Linked DNA regions of Homo sapiens: regions 2 and 3 are each linked to region 1. The links are contacts of gene promoters, found by promoter capture Hi-C in blood cells and fetal thymus (Javierre and others, 2016). All regions are on one chromosome and are shown on one strand. Each heading gives the region's core, a stretch centred on a gene start or on the middle of the fragment in contact. The rest is flanking DNA. Distances are from core to core; before and after follow the strand shown.

What was found. The method cuts DNA at HindIII sites, captures the fragments that hold promoters and counts their contacts. A CHiCAGO score of 5 or more calls a contact.
Region 2: a contact is called between a fragment that was not itself captured here and the fragment with the promoter of TFAP2A-AS1 in region 1, in 3 of 17 cell types (M0 macrophages, M2 macrophages and M1 macrophages). The highest score is 8.5, in M0 macrophages.
Region 3: a contact is called between a fragment that was not itself captured here and the fragment with the promoter of TFAP2A-AS1 in region 1, in 1 of 17 cell types (endothelial precursors). The highest score is 5.8, in endothelial precursors.

Annotation. Positions count from the first base shown.
Region 1 is chr6:10,408,777-10,413,776 of GRCh38, forward strand. TFAP2A-AS1 (TFAP2A antisense RNA 1) reads left to right here and starts at 3,542. Exons shown (of 3, transcript NR_033910.1): 1 at 3,542-3,591. It overlaps TFAP2A (transcription factor AP-2 alpha), which reads right to left. Exons shown (of 7, transcript NM_001372066.1): 2 at 1,125-1,559. RefSeq lists a silencer at 3,782-4,141. The HindIII fragment of the contact is 20,769 bases long and covers 1-5,000 here.
Region 2 is chr6:9,540,460-9,545,342 of GRCh38, forward strand. No RefSeq gene overlaps it. Among named protein-coding and RNA genes, the nearest start is that of TFAP2A-AS2, 860 kb to the right of the region's middle. The HindIII fragment of the contact is 5,665 bases long and covers 1-4,224 here.
Region 3 is chr6:9,502,657-9,507,621 of GRCh38, forward strand. No RefSeq gene overlaps it. Among named protein-coding and RNA genes, the nearest start is that of HULC, 850 kb to the left of the region's middle. The HindIII fragment of the contact is 5,017 bases long and covers 715-4,965 here.

The DNA of each region.
Region 1 (5,000 bases), core at 2,292-4,791:
ACGGAACTTAAATAATGTTTTAAATTCACCAAGCAAGGAGGTAAGTTCATCTGACCATTTTCCTTACAATCTAATGTAGTAATCATTAAACTGTCAACGGACATACTGCTGCAATATTTGATGCAGTAATTTGAAATAGCATTTTAGTAAAAATCACATCCAGATACATTTCCTCTCCAAAGAAAAGCAGCTTTAACAGAAGCCTTTACAGCTTTAATAAAATTATTGGCTTGCTCTAATTCCATTTCAGGAGGGTTGTGAGGAAACCATAAATATATAGAATTGAAGCAGAGGTACTGGTTTAAGTTTAATTCCAGAAAGTATTTTCAAATTATCAATAGCCTGGTTTGCATTGTAAATAGTAAATGTGCTAATGCCATGCTTATTTAGAAATCATTTTAAACTGCATTTATTGATAACTAAATTAGAACTCAAATAATGTATTACCCAATAGTCTCGAAACATTTAATTTAATATGGAGTGTAGCAGGTTCTGATAGGCGTTGGGAACCTAGCTAATGATTTATGAGGTCACCACTTAGCACCCCTAGTAAGAAGAAGGCTGCATTTTAATGTCCCTCTGCTTGGATTTGCTACTTAGTTTTTCTTTAATCAGGATAGGGTGTACACATAACTTTTAGGTTTCACTTGTGCTTATAAAATCCGGTTAAAATGATCTTAGTGTGTCTTTTACACTTCCTTTTACATTTTGAGGACATTTAATGAGCTCTTTTGGTTGCATTTAACATCATTCCCAGGACAGGGAGAAATCTCCACGCCAGACTCAGCGATGGAAGTAGATCTTTTAGCAATTGAGACAGTTTACTGTCGTCGAGAGGAAGATATTGTTAATGGTGACATTCGTCTGATTTATCTGTGTTGGTGGAAATGGTAATGCAGGCATTGTTTGAGGGAGCTCCAGAAACCATTGTTCTGGGGTAGAACTCGCAACTACTTTGTGTGGTTCCTCAAAACGTCCCTCACTCTCCGCCTCCGAATAAAATGTTTTTATAAGGAAATACTAGGGAGAACCCGGGCCCACCGACTGTATGTTCCAGGTATCCTTTCTGGGGTAGGTAAGTAGGGGGCTGTGTTCCCTCCCGCGCTGGTTGCGCGGCCTCTTACCGGGACCTCCTCGATGGCGTGAGGTAAGGAGTGGATCGAGAGGTCTCCGAGTCCTGAGCTGAGCGCGTGTGGGCCGTGCAGGAGGTCCTCGTGCCGCCTGTAGTCCCTGCGAGGATCCAGGCCCGACAGCTGGTGAGGCAGCCCCCGGTGCGTGTGCAGGAGCCCAGACTCCTGGCTCTGCCTCTGGCCGGGCCAGCCTGGGTGCTGCGGCTGCGGCTGGGCGTGCAGGGGGTTCAGGCTGTAGGGGTCGTTGACGTGGGAGTAAGGATCTTGCGACTGGGGGTAGATAGGCTGGTAGGGTGGGGGGAAGTATGGGGGCTGGAAGTCGGCATTGGGGGTGTGGGACAGCGGCGGGGCGCTCGTGTAGGGAGATTGACCTACAGTGCCCAGCTGGGGCAACCGTGCCGTCCCGTTGCTGGTGCCGTCGTGACGGTCCTAGAAGAGAGCGAGAGGAAAGGTAAAGAACAAGGAATCAGGCGTCGAGCTACAACTATCCACACAAAATCCACTTGACAAGTCTGCGTGGGAAATCGCCCGTTCCCGTTGGCTGGCCGCCGGGAAAAAATCAGCTCTAAGTTCTTTTCAGGAAATACCCTCAAGTGAAACAGACCGAACAACGCAGAGAAACTGTATATGGAGGGGGCACAAGAGACTATTTAGGGGTTTCTTTCAAAGAGAGGAAAAGATAGAAAAGGGTCTCCTGGAACACAGCCCATTAAACTGCAGCGTGAAATCTCTCTTAAGCAAAATTAAAATTCCTCCTAAATACTAAACAGCAGAAGCGGCCTTTTCTTTTCCCCCGATTTGAACCTGTCTGCCACTGCGTTATTGTTTATTCTCTTCCATTTATTTGGAGAGAAAAAAATCATAAACGTTCAAAGACTGTTACCGTTTCATGACTACTTAAATAGAAACATATTTCGCAGAGGGGCTGTAACAAAAACACACGTTTAAATTACCAGCTTAAAGAAGGTTTTAACTGCAGGATCGGGGTCTGTCTTTTTCGCTTCCTCTGTTAGGAGCCTTTTTCTCGACAGAGTCGATTTATGGTTTGGATAGGGAAAGGGGGACGTCAAGTCAAGGTTTAAAATAGAAAGATTCAGCCTTATTGGGTTTAAAAGAGAGAGGTGCACCCCGGGGCTGTGGCCCCCCCCCCCCGCCCCTTCCACCCCAGCCCCAAAGGGCAGAAGAAACGCCTGACTTTAGGTTTCTCTATTGCAATTCCCTTGCAAAACAAGCGAAGAGAGTTGATTCCAGAGACCGCGAACCCTCGGCGGTTCGGCCGCAGGTCCCGAGGGTAGGGGGCACACCGCGCTGCACTTTTCCTGCAGACAGTTTAAGCATCAAATGTTGAGAACATCTCGGGGACAAGTGAAGACTCAAGGAAATCAAGATGAACGTGGGGAGAAACACGCCTTGGGAAGCCGCGGCGAGGTAGGTCTGCGTGCTCGGAGAGGTCGAGCGGGGGCTGGGGTAGGGGGTAATGCACTCGATTTAGGGATGGAAAAGAGCGAGAGAAAGGCGGAAGGTGGGGTGGGGGATGCAAATGGAGAGGGTGTCCTGAAGGAAAGCTGGGCGTGAAACCCGAGGTTTCGGGCAGCTCCACGGCACCAGGTTTCCAGAATCCAATTCCTAAAGAAACAGCAACGGGGGTGGGGATGGGACTCACCATGGCTGAAAAACTGTGAACTAACATCTGCGAAGAGTCTGGGGTAACGAGTCAGGGTGGAAAAAAACAAGCAAGCCTGGAGCGCCCGGCTGCCCCGCCGCCCGAGCGCGCCCCACACAAAAGGCGCCGAGAGCCCCGCGCCACCCAGGACTCCAGTCACGGCGCCGACGCTCCCCGGAGCGCGGGAGCCCGGCTCGGATCCATCCGAACTTGAACCACCGATTCGCGCGGCGCCTTCAGCTGGTCGAACCCACGGTCTCTATCCTGCCGCGACTGGTTATGATTCAAAGTTCTTTAAAAATGAAAAACCCCAAAAAAGGAAAAAGGAAAAAGTATGTGTGAGTGTGTGGGTGCGTGCGTGTTCCTTAATCCGTGTCTCCCCCTCTTTTCTTAGCGGCGGCTTCGCTTGAGCTTCTAATAACCGCGCTGGGCAGCGTTCCTGGAGCCTCCTAATAGCAGATATTCATGACTATTAATATTACACGAATACTTAATAAGGGAAGAATGCCTGGAAATCGAGCGTGAAGCGGAGAGGCAACTCGCGCCGGAGCCGGCTCTCAATGCAGTCCATTGACGGGAGTCTCAGTGTAGCAAATCGGAGTGGGGAGAGGGAGCGCGAGAGACAAAAAGCGAGCGAGAGAGGGAGCGGGCGAGCGCGCGGGGGGCCGCGGCGCGGCGTCTGGCGAATCACAGGGAAGGGGCAACATTTTAAAAGGTTGCAGGGCATGCAAAAGTGAAAGAGAAAGAGGCAGAGAGGGAGACCGAAGGAGAGAGCGCAGAGAGGGAGAATGTGTCTGCGTGCGTGTGTGAGAAAGAAAGTGTGGGCGAGGGAGAGGAGCCCCGGGTGGGGAGAGGGGAGGGAGGGAAGGAGGGAGAGCCCGAGAGGAGGAAGGGAGGGAAAGAGGGAGGGAGGAAGGGAGGGAGGGAGGGGGAGGGGGCCCAGCCGGAGCGCACGGAGGGGGAGGCCGCGGGGGAGGGGGAAGGGGAGAGGAAGCGAGCGAGGACAATCAGACCTAAAAGGCTGGGGCAGACCTCGGGATGCAGCGGGGGTCGTGCGTAGCGGGTAGGAGCTGCTTGGGACCGCGTCCGGGCGCTCGTGGGGCTCTCGGCGCGGCAGGCGCTTCCCGGCCCTGTCTGGCCGCGGGCTCCGCCGCTTCGCAGCCGAGTCTGGGACTCGGGACTCGGCTGCCCGCTGCTGCGCGGCTCCTCCATGACCCGGCGCCCTGCCCGGGACCGGCCCGCTCGCTGCACTGGTCCTCTCCTCGGCCTCCTCTTGAGCTTTCCTCGGACAGGGGCACCGTGCGCTCCCCGGCCACCGTCGCTCTGCCCTCGGCTCTCTGGGGCCGGGGATTCCGGATCGGGAGCCGGGATGCGGGCCGGGGCGCGCACAGACGCTAGGCGGCCCAGCCCGGGCGCCGCTGGCACCGGCTCGCGGCTCCCGGCAAAAACCCGTCCGACTGGCTGGGCCACTCCCGCCTGACGCCCCCCCAGATGACACGACTAGCTCTCCCGGCGTGCTGCCTTTGCCAGTCTACCCGCCAGGTTGTCAGAACAAGCGGCACCTCGCCTCCTGCGTGTCCCTACAGAGCCCCGGCACAATCAGACTGCCCCAAGCCAGCTCCGAAACCCGAAATCCCCGCTCCGGCGCTTGCCCACCACGGCCAAAGTTGTGGAAACAGCTTTGACTTTATTCTCCTCTCTCTCTCATCTTTTTTTGCCTCGCTTACACACGCATTCACACTTGCCCCCACAGGATCCCTCTAGGGGTGCAAGTTCATCCCCCACCTAGCCACCCACCCCATCCAGTCGGCACCTAGAGCCGCACGGAGGTTCGGACCCCGCCCGCCGAGGGCGCCCACACCTGGAGCTGGGTTTCGGCCTCTGCGAAAGTGAAATGCCCAAGCCTCCGGCCAAAGCCCAGACCAGTACAGTATGAATTGTCCTATGAGACTGAGGGGTTCGGCTTCATTCCTACCTGCCCGCAAAGCTCGCCCCCAGCCTCGAAAACAAAGCGACTGGTCTGACGTGGGGTCCCTGCGCCCCTCCTCTAGCGCGACAGGACCCCCCCAGGGAAGAGCCAGTACCCGTGGGATGTCACCCCGTCCCCATCTACCGGGGTGGGGGGCCTGAAAGGAGAACGATTTAAAATAATCTTCAGAAAGAAAAGGGAGGAGGGAGCGGGTGACACATCGTTCACATAAACCCAA
Region 2 (4,883 bases), core at 142-2,641, 870 kb before region 1:
ATGTACTATCTTATGTTCCATATTTTCACATTATCATCTTGGCTGCAGTTCATTTGTACAACATCCAGAAGTTTATCATTTCCATATTACAGGAAGACAAGTAACTTTACAAAAATTTTTTAAATAGAGAGATTTAATAATAAGAATGTAGGCTTTTCAAACTTCCAATTCTATATTGTCTTAATGCAAATTTTCTGCTTATGTTCATAAAAAAAATCTGCATTGCTCATGATCTCCCCTTTTGCCCTCTAGAGGGCACTAGATCACACTCCTGATGATAAAAGGAGTCAAATTGAAGCCCTATTTGCTGATGTTAAAATTTCCCCTTGAGTCATTATCTTTGGAGAGAAAATTTCTGCTGTCTAAAGGAACCAGTGACTATGAGGAGCAGGTAGTTCACTTCTTGCCACGTTGTTTCTAAACAGAGGGAAAGCAATGCGCTTGGGGGTTTTGAAGACTGGCTGCCCAAGTTCAAACACATGGCTCAGGCACTTCCTGAATATGTAATGTTGGGCAAATTATTTGTTTCTGTGCCTCAGTTTCCTCATCTGTAATATGGGGATAATAATACCTACTCCACAGCATAGCTGTGAAGATTTTAAAAAATGATAATATGTATAAAGAAGTTGGGGAACAGATACAGCCTATAGCAAGCACTATTAGTATTAGAGTTTTTTTCAATATTTTATAGCAAGCACTATTAGTATTAGTTTTTTTAATACCTTTTTTTGGAACATAATCCCCAATAATGATTCTGCGCTACTGCCCCTGGATTTCTTCCTTAGTCCCATGACTCAAATGGGCAAGCCTCTATTAGGACCATCTAAGAGATCTATGCAATTCCCTTACAAGATTCAATATTGGCTTAGCGTACTTTTAAAGAGGCTGATGCCATTGATTCAATAGACGTCAAAACAGAAAGTAAACCTCTTCAAAGTCAGGATGACATAACTTTGTAGTTTTGCTTTCTTGCTCACTTTTGGATAATAAGCCCCAAACCAAAATATCAAGAGTTTATTGTAATGAAAGGCCATAGAAACACATACTAGACAAATGAGTATACAGAATAGATATATGGCCCTTCTTTAGTCTATGGAAAATATTTTATTTTCCTTGAATGCCATATATAGTAAGAGTCATTAGGATTTTTTTCCCCTGGAACTTACATAGCAGCTAGAAGAGCCAATAATGCTTTTGAAATTCAACCTTTGTTTCTAGTGATGATGTCTAAGTCTTTGTGGATTTACTGTCTTGGTTCATTTAGCTAGCAGTAGAACGAGAGTTTTCACAAAATATCCCCCTGGGTCATGGTGGCGGTAGTGGTAATCCTCTATCTTCTTTCTCTCCCTGATATTTATATTTATTTATTACGGTAAGTTTTCTAATGCATAAAAATGTAATGTAAGAAATGATTATAAATCTTTGGCTATATACATGTTCAAAGAGATATTTAAAATTAGTTGTCCCTGATCCTCTCAACGTAGATATTAATTCATCAGTAAGTCAACTGATAGTTTGTGCCATAACCTCTAATAGATCTGGCTTTGCCCTGGAAGCCCATGCAGGCTAAAATCAGCAGCCAACCCTTTGCCTGGATTGTACTTCTAAAAGAGTTAGAGTTTGAAGTGCCGTATAAGTATTTTAAATATATTTGTATTGATGTACACAACCGGTTTGATCATTATTAATGAACTAATCGACTAAATACTGTATTAGATAATCAGTTGGTGGAGCCTAATAATAGTATCAGCTCTAGATGTGAGTATCTCTTGGCGTTCCTGTAGTCTGATTTATGAATGGTATGCTACACATCAATCTTTACACACCCATTCAGAATAAATAAGCAAGATGAAAGGAGATTCACATATTCTTTATAAAGATAAGTCTTATGAGGTAATGGCTCTATGATGGTTAATACACCCTATTCTCATAGCATTATGATAGAACCTAAAACTTAATTGCTCTGTTCAAAAGAGAAATAATGCAATGTTCCTACTTAAAATGGTTTCTTATGCAAAGGCGTAAAATTTCTGGCATTAGAGAAAACAAAAGCGTATCTGGTACTCTAGCTGCTGTGTCTCAGTTGTAAAAATCTCGTCTGTGATCATAATAGGATATTGATTAGTATGGAAGCTATACAAAGCTGAATTGCATTTCTTGGTGGAGTACGAAAGGTCACTGTTTGATTACTCAATAACTTTTCAAATACAAGAAATGCTATTTAAAAGTATGCTTGAATGATTGGTTTGTACTATAAGAGGGAAATGGGGGAAATGGTACTACTTTCGTAAAGGTAGTTAGATGTTAAATTCTTATATCATTTTCTATTCATGTATATTTAACATTCTGTACTATTTTATATACTAGAACATAAACCATTAAATCAAATTATAAGTGCAATTTTACATGTTATCCATGTGATATCTAACTTACAAGACATATAATTCACTTGTTTTTAGGTATTAACTGAGTTTGTCACTATGGCCATCTTATATTTGATGGCATTTATTTTCTGTGATCATAAATATAAGGTACTTCATATTATTATAGAAAATGTAAAAAATACAGAACTATATAAAGAAGATAACAAATTACCAATAATTCTGATATTCTGATTAACTTCTTTCCTCTTTTTATTTATAAAACAATATAAAGTCTTATCATGTATTTATTATATTTGCTACAAGTTATAAATTCAGGATCATTTTATAATAGTTTTAATGATAATTTTCCCCTTTTAACTGGGAATGCACTCTTAGGAATAGTAAATATTCTTGAAAAAATGATTCTTAATAACTGCGTATTATTCTAAATTATGGATAGACCATAAAATATTTAACCTGTTAGTTTGTGCTCATAAATACCTCCGAACTCTCCTGTTTATGTGACCTATAGTTTTGTTAAGAGCCTTGTATGATGGACATCGGCATCATCCTCTTTGATCCCGTTACTTTCTCCTTACATTGCCACTGATTTCCTCTTTTGGCATTACAGGTTTCTTTCTAATCACTGGCACACATGCCCAAGCCCAGGGCTCACTATTTGCTCAAACAAGTATTCACCTTTGATAGATTGAGTAACCTCAATCTGACTTGGCAAAATAAAGAAACCTTATTGAGTCTATTGCAAGGACTGGCTAACAGCATCCCAATACTTGGTTAGAACTCCAACCATATTTACCAAATGTATTAGGATGTTCTTGCATTGCTATAGAGAAATCCCTGAGGCATGGTAATTTATGAAGAGAACGGTTTAATTGGCTTACAGTTATACAGGTTGTACAAGTATAGCACCAACATCTGCTCTGCTTCCAGTGAGGGCCTCAGTAACCTTCCAATCACAGTGGAAGCTGAAGGGAGAGCAGGCATGTCACGTGGCAGGAGAGGGAGCCAGAGAGAGAGGTGGGAGGTGCCACACACATTTCAACAAGCAGATCTCATGAAAACTGACTCATCACAAAGAGCATGGTGCTAGCGCATTCATGAGAAATACGCCCCCATGATCCGATCACCTCTTACTTGGCCCCACCTCCAACAGTGGGGATTACATCTCAACATGTGATTTGGTGGGGACACAGATCCAAACCATAGCATCAAATATATAGATGACTGAATGACAAGAGGCAGGTCGGAGAAGGTAGAAAGCAGTGCATGTAGAGAGAGTGGAGAATTTGAGTAGCAGATCATGAAGACAGAAGAAAAATGGGCGATGTAAAAATAGAAAGAATAGCACAGTAATGGGCAGAGGAAACAGAAATAGGGTGGAATACATGAGAACAGGGTGGAGGATTTGGGTGTCAGAAAAGAAGCAGTGTGGAAATTAATTGATACTCTCTGCAGTACAGCCACATTCTATGCCATGGGCAACACAGCAAAAGTATCATTCATAATTGGGACTCTCTGGCTTGTGTAACCACCCACTGAGACAAAAGAGACTGCTTTCATATCAATTATTTTGCTTAGGGTACTGGTATCATGATATACCTATTTATGTACATTTGATCCGTATGCACCTTTCAGATGTTGATAGACATGTAGCATCTGGAATTGGAAGGTGATGGACCTGCTCTTCTGTGTGCCAATCAGAATCTCCTGGAGCACTGGATTCAGGTCTAAAGTCAGACTTTTTAAGAGGGAAGTAGACACTGGAGGAGATGTACCCTGGAGGATGGTCAGCACAGTGAAGGGACCTAAAATACAATCACCCACAGACAGGTAAAAAGAAAGCTTGGAGAGGGCATGATTATACAGTTCCTAATAGGTGACTACTTTTGAAGGCATGCCAAGTACAAGAGCAGCAGGCTGGCTCTGTTTGACCTTAAGGAGAAGAGATGTGGAAACAATGCAGGCTTTTCAGGAAGACAGATTTTGTTTTGTTCAAGGAAAACCTAATAAGCAGTGGAAATGCTTGAATTTGTGATTGGTTCATCTTTGAGAAAGTGAGACCTTCCAAATTGGAGGTGTTTAAATACACCTTAGTGAACAATTGGTGGGGATTTTGTTGCAGAGAATCAAATACCTGCTATTCGGTGGAGATAGATTATCTTTAAGGTCTCTGCCAACTCTATGATACTGTAATTTTATGCAGATCTCTGTGTAGATGGAGCAGAGAAAGCAAATGCAAATTTGTATTGATGTGGCCAAAATTGCTTTAACAAAAGTTACATATTGAAACCATTTTAGTTTTAATACCATCAAAAATTTTACTTTGTTCTTTCATAAGAAAACACCTGTAACAACTGGAATGTTTTTTTCAATGTCATCTGTGTTTTTAGTTTGAATATAATGCATGGTTTTCTGAACAGAAAAAAATCTCACTTTCTCTTTTTTGTTTTGTTTTTGTTTTGTTTTTTGAGACAAGATCTGGCTCTGTCACCCTGGTTG
Region 3 (4,965 bases), core at 1,973-4,472, 910 kb before region 1:
ACATTCATCCATTGAATTTGTTTCATGGAGAACTTTTAGTCCAGTTAATTCTGACAAAAAGTAGAATTGAAAAGAAACACCCGTTCACAGGTTGGCTAATAAGAAAACCATTTTTTACAAGTGCTAATTAATTAATGCAAGGTACTTAGTGCCTAGCACGTCATAAGTGCTTATAAGTGTACTTTGCTATGACTGATTACAATTATATAATGGGAGCTCAATCAGTGGTTCTTGTTTTGAGGATGACTTTTCTGTGGTTGAACAGTTGTTGCCTATTTCTTCCCATCTGAAGAAACCATCTGTGTCCTAAATAAAACAATGATCCTTTAACAGATCCTAAATAGTTTTAAGCTCAAGCGATAAACTCATGGGAAAATTATACGTCCAAAAGTTTAATTTGTATTCTATAGACAAAATGACTGATTGGCAGAATATTTTGCAGAACTTTGGCAAGTAGCAAATTCTTTGAAAAGAATTTCAAGATGGCTATGCCATCACATGGTTCTTAAAATACAAATGCACACAAGTGGGTCTTTCTTCTGGTAAAAGCCACACATAAGAAATAGACATATGATAATATGCTTGGAATGTGACCTTACAGTAAAAATGCCTTCTTTTTATCACCAGTTTGTAATTTTGAAAACAAAATGCACCATTTCACAACAGGAAAGCACTGGGGATGATGAGGAGCATAAAATATGTTCAAACAAATTAAGCTTGTTTAATATGTTTTGACTCTTCCATTTTTGTTTTCTCCTCTTGAACTACATGCTTTTTGTTTGTAGCTGTTGCACAGGAAAAAACGAGTGCCTTATATGCGTGAGAGATCTGTCATATGATTACCTGGAGGAAATTAAAATGATGCACAATGTAATAAGGCAAATGGAATGTTGAGCGATTATTCAGGAAATCTGACTGGCCAACGTACAGGGTAGTAATTCCTTAGACATTCCATTCTCAGAGAGATCTTGTACTTCCCACAGAGATGTGAAAAAATCCCCTTGCCTATAGAACCGCCATGGGAAGTCAATGCAAATCAGTGTATTTCCTCTTGTTCTGCGTAAAGGAACCTGAAGGGCAAAGAACATGTGTCACAAAAGCACCGTGGGAGCCTATCATTATTACTACTAACAAGAATAAATGGAACCTTTGCATACATAAACAAATCGTAAGAGGTATATATTTTTCCTTAGCTTTTAAAATCAATGGTATCAGGGCATTTTCTTGGGATTAATCTACTGGGGTTTTTTGCTACTTTGAAATGAACAAAGTTGAGTCAGTCATTAATCCCCAAGAAATTCTGTGCCTCTCTGTCACCGGACTGACATGTGGATTGTTGCTCCCCTTTGGACTCAAACGAGGTGCTCCAAAAACTCTAGCCTGATCACAGAATTAAAAAACAAAACAAAATAAAAAAAAACAGCAAAGGTACTCCCCAGCTTCTGGGGTTATTTCTTGGAGTTCAGAACGTAAATAAAATTTACTAAGTATGATTTTGTATTAAGAACCTTTCAGGGCTTCTAGTAGCTGCAATTCTAACATTTTGTGAAGAGTAGATTTGCAGCTGCCAACCTGCCCAGGCACCTTTTGCTTCAGTAGGCAGTAGAATAATTCCCAGAGGATCAAAAGCAAACACATTATGTGGCTTTTTGCCGAATGTGTATTCACTGCCAGGCATCAACCCTCACCTGGGGGAAAAAAGAAATCTCTATTATGGAAGAATATATCACCAGTAGCAACTGTTCTCACAGAGGTGGACATACACGGGTGTGAGTATTGACTCATCAGAATACAGGTGTGGTGGGAGAACAATTATAATTCAGGTAATAGCTAAACATGAATTTTAATGAGGATATTCAATAGTCATTAAATATGGCACTAGACATGGGGATTAAAGGTTGGTGTTTCTATGTGAACATTGCATGAGTTATTTTAGTTCTAATTATTAGAAGAATAACTAGAATTAATAGATATGTCTGTACTAGTAAAATTATTTAGTTTTTTTGATAATTCTTTGAATCCATTTGTCAGAGGTGTCTGAACCAAAGCAACTCCATCTTGAATAGGGGCTAGGTAAAATGAGCCTGAGACCTACTGGGCTTCAATCTCAGATGGTTAAGGTATTCTAAGTCACAGGATGAGATAGGAGGTCGGCACAAGATACAGGTTATAAAGACCTTGCTGATAAAACAGGTTTGCAGTAAAGGAGCCAGCCGAATCCCACCAAAACCAAGATGGCGATGAGAGTGACCTCTGGTCGTCTTCACTGCTACACTCCCACCAGCCCCATGACAGTTTACAAATGCCATAGCTGCATCAGGAAGTTACCCTATATGGTCTAAAAAGGGGAGGCATGAATAATTCACCCCTTGTTTAACATTTAATCAAGAAATAACCATAAAAGTGGGCAACTAGCAGCAGCACTCGGGGCTGCCCTGCCTATGGAGTAACCATTCTTTCTTCCTTTACTTTCTTAGTACTTGCTTTCACTTTACTGTATGGATTCACCTCGAATTCTTTCTTGTGAAAGATCCAAGAACCCTCTCTTGGGGTCTGGATTGGGACACCTTTCCAGTAACACATTTATTAAAGATTAGCGAATTTGCAGATTCACTAAAAATAGAAAGTACTATTTTTCTGTTACATTGATGCAATAACTAATTTGGTTGTTAAAAGTTTCTAACTATAAAACAGTTTACAAGAAGGAACTCACTGTGGAATCTGTGATTCTCCTCCCCAAACCCCACGAACCTTTCTCTCATGAGAGTTTTTTCTTTTGAACTAAAGTGCCCAGACACAAGTCCCCGCAAGAGGTCAAACGCTAATAATGAGAATAGATGCAAAAGCTGAGGTCATAGACCGATTATTTTTTACATACCATTACTAAAAATGCCAGTTTTGAAAGGGTTTCACCTGTTGTTTTCTTTATTGTTCAGGGTACACCTACCAAAGGCAGGAAAATCTAAAAACTCTTGTGTTTCCTCAAAGACAATGTGGCAAAAAAGAAAGGAGATTTTCTTTTTTTCTTGTTTCTTTTCTTTTCTTTTTTTTCTTTTTGAGACGGAGCTTTGCTCTTGTTACCCAGGCTGGAGTGCAATGGTGTGATTTTGGCTCAGCGCAATCTCCTCCTTCCAGGTTTAAGCAATTCTCCTGACTCAGCCTCCTGAGTAGCTGGGATTAAAAGCATGTGCCATTACACCTGGCTAATTTTTTTTTTTTTTTTTTTTTTGTATTTTTAGTAGAGACAGGGTTTCTCCATGTTGGTCAGGCTGGTCTCAAACTCCCGACCTCAGGTGATCTGCCTGCCTTGGCCTCCCAAAGTGCTGGGATTACAGGCGTGAGCCACTGCGCCCGCCCAGCCAGAAAGTAGATTTTCTGTGAAAGTAATTCACCTACCCCACAATCTATTTCCTACCTGTAAGATCTCTCTTGATTTTAGTTATGTGCTCTAAAAACTTACTGATAGCACTAGCTTGGACTTTTTTGGCATTTTGTAGTTTTCAAACACTTTCTTATGTAATCTCAAATATCCTCATCCCCATTTTTCTGATGAGGAAACTATAATGAGGGAAAACTAGAAAACTCCCTAACATCTAAAAAAGTGAAAGGTGATTAATTAGATGTACAGCATACGTCAGGTGAAAATTTTTCCCGTAATTTTCTCATTAGACCAGGCTCCTTCTCTCACCTTTGGGAAGATAGTAGTGCAGGACCCAGGCTTTTACAAACTTTCCTCCTACTCCAAATCTTGTGATGGAGATGGAAAAGGGGAACAGATTCATTAAAGGTTGAGGAAAAGAAAAATTGTTCAATGTTTTACACATTTTCAAAAACAATTAGAAGCAGACAATTGGGAGGGTTATGTGAGACAAAAAGAATAGATTTAAATTGACCTACAACTTGAAAAGAACTTAACAATTGCTCTAAGACCATAGTTATGACTAAAAGAACTTGAATATATACTTCCCCTGTTTTTTTTTTTCCTTATTTTCCCCTTGTATTAATCAATGACATCAACAACCACCTGATTCTCAGGATAGAGATATTCATATTTTCTTCAATGATTTCCTCTTCTACTGCTCCTGTTTATTGTACTCAGTCAGTTACCATGTGTCTTAATCCATTCAGACTGCTATAAAAAATACCATAGACTGAGTGGCTTATAAACCACAGAAATTCATTGCTCACAGTTCTAGAGGCTGGGAAGTCCAAGATCAAGGAACTGGCAGATTCCGTGTCTGGTGAGGGTCTGTTTCCTAGATCATAGGTGCTACCTTCTTGCTGTGCCCTCACACTGTGGAAGAAGGAAGGCAGATCTCCAGGGTCTCTTTATTAAGGGCACTAATCCCATTCAAGAGGGCTCCACCCCCATGACCTAATCACCTCTTAATGACCGCACCTCCTAATAGACTTGCACTGGGGATTAGCAACACAGGAATTTTGGGATAACAAAAATATTCAGGCTGTAGCACGAGGCTTTGCTATTTCTTGTCACTTATCCCTCTGACTTTGAAGACTCATTAGTAATATCCAGGATTAATCCTTCAGTATTTCCCATCTGAACAATTGAGGTAAGCCTCCTGTGCATTCTATGCTTCAAGCCTGCCACCAGTCACTTTCCTAAAGTCCAGATCAAACCATGACGTGATGTGGGAACTATCATGGCATGGTTTGACCTAGGGCAGTGGTTTCCAAATGACAGTGCATCAGAAGCTACAGGAGATCTCGTTAACACAGATTTCTTGGCCCAACCCCCAGAGTTTCTGATTTAATTGGCCTGAGTGGGAGCCTAAGAACTTGCATTTCTAACAAGTTCTCAAGTGATGCTAATGGTACTGGTCCCAAGACCACACCAGGAGAACTATTTACCTTGAAAACTACATCCTAATCCCTAACCCCAATTGACATTTTAAGCCTCAGCCCTCACTAAGTCAATTCATAATTAATATAATGGAGCCTAGTAGG